Regions from separate parts of the Homo sapiens genome. Here region 1 is linked to region 2. The links are contacts of gene promoters, found by promoter capture Hi-C in blood cells and fetal thymus (Javierre and others, 2016). All regions are on one chromosome and are shown on one strand. Each heading gives the region's core, a stretch centred on a gene start or on the middle of the fragment in contact. The rest is flanking DNA. Distances are from core to core; before and after follow the strand shown. Region 1 holds the start of OR5AP2 (olfactory receptor family 5 subfamily AP member 2). Region 2 holds the start of OR5M10 (olfactory receptor family 5 subfamily M member 10).

Evidence for each region. The method cuts DNA at HindIII sites, captures the fragments that hold promoters and counts their contacts. A CHiCAGO score of 5 or more calls a contact.
Region 1: the fragment with the promoter of OR5AP2 here is called in contact with the fragment with the promoter of OR5M10 in region 2 in 7 of 17 cell types (neutrophils, fetal thymus, activated CD4 T cells and 4 more); the score reaches 10.9 in neutrophils.

Annotation. Positions count from the first base shown.
Region 1 is chr11:56,641,170-56,643,869 of GRCh38, reverse strand. OR5AP2 (olfactory receptor family 5 subfamily AP member 2) reads left to right here and starts at 1,431. Exons shown (of 1, transcript NM_001002925.1): 1 at 1,431-2,381. The coding sequence starts at 1,431. The coding sequence ends at 2,381. The HindIII fragment of the contact is 8,469 bases long and covers 1-2,652 here.
Region 2 is chr11:56,576,315-56,579,054 of GRCh38, reverse strand. OR5M10 (olfactory receptor family 5 subfamily M member 10) reads left to right here and starts at 1,334. Exons shown (of 1, transcript NM_001004741.1): 1 at 1,334-2,281. The coding sequence starts at 1,334. The coding sequence ends at 2,281. The HindIII fragment of the contact is 7,953 bases long and covers 1-2,440 here.

The sequences.
Region 1 (2,700 bases), core at 182-2,681, 65 kb before region 2:
TCTAGTTTGGGCATCTATTCTGAATTTTCTTTTTTATTTCTTTTACTTTTCTTATCCTATGTTTGTCTTCATTACACCTTGCAAAGGGTGACTCTTATTTCCATTTTGATTACTTGGTATTAAATTATTCCCTTGATTAAGTATGGTGGCTGAAAAATTGCATGTGCTACTTCTGATGTTTTCTGGTTCTCTTGAGAACTTGTGAATGTGAGTATTAGAGATTTTCACTGGCTTGGCTACTTCTGCCATTTTTATCGGGGATGCCTACTCATTCTTACAATCTGATTCTCTAAATATTGGAATGAATTGTGGAAAATTACTATTTAACTGACCCTATTCTGTTCTCTGTAGATGTTTATTATGGAAAATCAGAGTGGGGTTCGAACTGTACTGGCTGTGTGGGAATATTCTCTATTTTCTTCTTTGGCCAGGCATTTTTAAGCTCTTCCTCTACCCCAAGAGATTCTGCTGTTTTTCTTTCTTTCTTTCTTTTCTCTTTCTTTCCTTCTCTCTTTCTTTCTTTCCTTTCTTTCTTTTTTCCTTCCTTCCTTCCTTCCTTCCTTCCTTCCTTCCTTCCTTCCTTCCTTCCTTCTCTCTCTCCTTCCTTCCTTCTTTCTTTCTTTCTTTGTTTCCTTCTTTCTTTCTTTCTCTTTTTTTTTTTTTTTTGGCACCGTCTCACTCTACTGCACAGGCTGGAGTGGTGCAGTGGTGCAAACCCAGCTCAGTGCAGCCTCAAACTCCTGGGGTCAAGCAATCCTCCCACCTCAGCCTCCTGAGTAGCTGAGACCACAGGGATGAGCCACCACACATAGCTTTTTTTTTTTTTTTTTTTAAATATTGCAGAGAGGAGATTTTGCCACATTGCCCAGGCTGGTCTTTAACTCTTGAGCTCAAGTGATCTGCCTTGCCTTGGTCTCTCAAAGTACTGGGATTACAGTTGTAAGCCACCAGGCCCAGCCCAACTATTTTTCTTGTCTGGCACTATAGATTAATTTTATTAACTTTCAATATTTTTATTCATTCTATTAGTACTGAGGAGGAATTGTAAGTGTCCTGAATTCATTCTATCATCCTTCTCCAGAAGTTGTGTCTGGAGGGTATGTCAGTATATATAAATTAATTTATTTATCACAAGTAATTATGACAGTCACATCTTAAGAATAAGTTATTTTAATTATTCAATAAAGAGTTAACTGTAGGAATGACCATAGTTAATACACACTAAATCACTTGCTTCAGTCATTAGTAGACAGCACATCTAGTACTACAAGTCTTTTGATTTGGCATCAAATCCAACATACCTTTTATTATGCTTTTCACTTTTTGCTCTTCTGTTAGAAGTTGTTTCACTAAAAATATATTATAGCTCCATCATGTATTCATCTGACTAAATTCCACTGTGCATCTTCTTTCTTATTGCAGCTCAAATGATGAGACTTATGAAAGAGGTTCGAGGCAGAAATCAAACAGAAGTAACAGAATTTCTCCTCTTAGGACTTTCCGACAATCCAGATCTACAAGGAGTCCTCTTTGCATTGTTTCTGTTGATCTATATGGCAAACATGGTGGGCAATTTGGGGATGATTGTATTGATTAAGATTGATCTCTGTCTCCACACCCCCATGTATTTCTTTCTCAGTAGCCTCTCTTTTGTAGATGCCTCTTACTCTTCTTCCGTCACTCCCAAGATGCTGGTGAACCTCATGGCTGAGAATAAGGCCATTTCTTTTCATGGATGTGCTGCCCAGTTCTACTTCTTTGGCTCCTTCCTGGGGACTGAGTGCTTCCTGTTGGCCATGATGGCATATGACCGCTATGCAGCCATTTGGAACCCCCTGCTCTACCCAGTTCTCGTGTCTGGGAGAATTTGCTTTTTGCTAATAGCTACCTCCTTCTTAGCAGGTTGTGGAAATGCAGCCATACATACAGGGATGACTTTTAGGTTGTCCTTTTGTGGTTCTAATAGGATCAACCATTTCTACTGTGACACCCCGCCACTGCTCAAACTCTCTTGCTCTGATACCCACTTCAATGGCATTGTGATCATGGCATTCTCAAGTTTTATTGTCATCAGCTGTGTTATGATTGTCCTCATTTCCTACCTGTGTATCTTCATTGCCGTCTTGAAGATGCCTTCGTTAGAGGGCAGGCACAAAGCCTTCTCCACCTGTGCCTCTTACCTCATGGCTGTCACCATATTCTTTGGAACAATCCTCTTCATGTACTTGCGCCCTACATCTAGCTACTCAATGGAGCAAGACAAGGTTGTCTCTGTCTTTTATACAGTAATAATCCCTGTGCTAAATCCCCTCATCTATAGTTTAAAAAATAAGGATGTAAAAAAGGCCCTAAAGAAGATCTTATGGAAACACATCTTGTAGAGCCATGTTACCCATCATTTGTTACGTAGAAGAAAATACATTTTCATGTTAACTGTATTCTCTGATTGTTTAAGCTGTTTCTCTGTGTTAAAGTAGATAATTTAAAATGAAGTATACTTTTTAATATCCTAGTATCTCATATATATATACACACACACACACGGGTCCCTTTGATGCACCAATACACTAGATGAAGGTTGGGACTGGAAAAAGTATCAAAACACTTGGAATTGGCTAATCTGGACTTAAGTTTTAATTTAAATATTAAGCTTATCTCAGTCTGAGTTTTATTATACAAACATTGGTGTCTTTGGGTTCT
Region 2 (2,740 bases), core at 85-2,584:
GAACTCAGAGAGAGTGGCTTGAGTTGGCAGCAAAGACTGCTTTTAACAATGTTCTGTGATTCTCTAACAATATTTTAATAAGTAGTTTAGTGGCATATAAATGGAGACAAAAAAACTTCACTCTCTTCCTTCAGGTGCTATAATTGTTTATTTACTGTTCAAATGTTGCATTCTCAGAAAAGGCTACTTTGAATAGTCATCTAAAAGAATCTCACATTCATTGTTCTTCACAGACCCAGCTTTTACTTGAAATTATAATATGTATCTTTCTCTGTGGGTTTAACCATTATTTCTCATATTATAATGTGAGCTCCATGAAACTGGAAAATTTGTTCACTCCAATAACCCCAGGAATTGTAATACACACAAAAAAATCAAGCTATGCAGTCAGTGTACATGAATAAACAGGCAGGTAAAATTTCAAAGTGAAAAAACAGTTCTTGGTTTTGTATATTCTTAGCCATATATCAAGCACTAAGTTTAACTAATTTAATGTTCACTGACAATCATAGGTTTCTGTTTGTTTGTTTGTTTGTTTGTTTGAGACGGAGTCTCGCTCTGTCGCCCAGACTGGAGTGCCCTGGTGTGATCTCGGCTCACTGCAAGCTCCGCCTCCCGGGTTCACGCCATTCTCCTGCCTCAGCCTCCCGGTAGCTTGGACTACAGGCGCCCGCCACTACGCCTGGCTACTTTTTTGTATTTTGAGTGGAGATGGGGTTTCACAGTGTTAGCCAGGATGGTCTTGATCTCCTGACCTCGTGATCTGCCCGCCTCGGCCTCCCAAAGTGCTAGGATTACAGGCGTGAGCCACCGCGCCCGGCCGACAGTCATAGGTTTTAAGTGAAAATGCTACCTTAATTTTTTTCTTCTGTTTTGTATCTGAAATAATAAGATATCAGACATGGAGGGAAACTGAAGATTGGACTTCCTACATTTATTTATTTAAATGATGCTAATATTAATATCTGATATTCATTTCTTTGTTTTTTTTGTTCCCTCACAAACCTTGAAAATAATTACCAAATGTAGAATTCACCAAGAAGACAAGTATAAATGCATTAATGTATAAATTTATAAATGTATATATATAAGAGACAGAAATAGAGAATGTGCCTGTGTGTGTGTGGGTTTGAGATACAAAAAGAGACAGAAAACACACACATATAAAGAGAAAACGTTGTGCAGAAATTCTGATGTGTTTATTGAAAAAAGTAATTGGTGCCTAGATGAATAGATGAATGAGTGAATGATAAATGGATGAAACAAATGCCAAATCTGGATCAGAGAGAATCCTCACATTCTTTGTCACTTTCAGTTTTCAAGAAATAAGAAGATGTTGTCCCCAAACCACACCATAGTGACAGAATTCATTCTCTTAGGACTGACAGACGACCCAGTGCTAGAGAAGATCCTGTTTGGGGTGTTCCTGGCGATCTACCTAATCACACTGGCAGGCAACCTGTGCATGATCCTGCTGATCAGGACCAATTCCCAACTGCAAACACCCATGTATTTCTTCCTTGGTCACCTCTCCTTTGTAGACATTTGCTATTCTTCCAATGTTACTCCAAATATGCTGCACAATTTCCTCTCAGAACAGAAGACCATCTCCTACGCTGGATGCTTCACACAGTGTCTTCTCTTCATCGCCCTAGTGATCACTGAGTTTTACTTCCTTGCTTCAATGGCATTGGATCGCTATGTAGCCATTTGCAGCCCTTTACATTACAGTTCCAGGATGTCCAAGAACATTTGCATCTCTCTGGTCACTGTGCCTTACATGTATGGCTTCCTTAATGGGCTCTCTCAGACACTGCTGACCTTTCACTTATCCTTCTGTGGCTCCCTTGAAATCAATCATTTCTACTGCGCTGATCCTCCTCTTATCATGCTGGCCTGCTCTGACACCCGTGTCAAAAAGATGGCAATGTTTGTAGTTGCAGGCTTTACTCTCTCAAGCTCTCTCTTCATCATTCTTCTGTCCTATCTTTTCATTTTTGCAGCGATCTTCAGGATCCGTTCTGCTGAAGGCAGGCACAAAGCCTTTTCTACGTGTGCTTCCCACCTGACAATAGTCACTTTGTTTTATGGAACCCTCTTCTGCATGTACGTAAGGCCTCCATCAGAGAAGTCTGTAGAGGAGTCCAAAATAATTGCAGTCTTTTATACTTTTTTGAGCCCAATGCTGAACCCATTGATCTATAGCCTACGGAACAGAGATGTAATCCTTGCCATACAACAAATGATTAGGGGAAAATCCTTTTGTAAAATTGCAGTTTAGGCCTGTGTTTATTTGTAATCCCTAAGTGCCTGTGGGGTAACAAACTGAAATGGAAAAACCTAGTGTAGTTATTATTTAACAGTATGGGCTCTTAGTAACCACTTTAGTTTCTTCTCAAAATTAACACTTTGAAGATTTAGTTTTTAAAAATAAAAAGCTTAATGTTGAAATTAATAATGTTTTATTTGTCAGAGATTCTATGAATATAAATTGTTTGGTTTCTAATAATTCTGTATGAAAATACTGGGTTTACTTACTTGGGGGTAAACTTTTAACTAACTTAGCCTGAGAGAAACTCTGAAAATCCAACCCCTTTGAATATTACTATCCATAGAGCCATAGTGAGGCTCCAGATAGGGTGGCTAATTTTACATTTTTAAAAAAATGATGCCGGGCATGGTGGCTCACATCTGTAATCCCAGCACTTTGGGAGCCAGAGATAGGTGGATCACCTGAGGT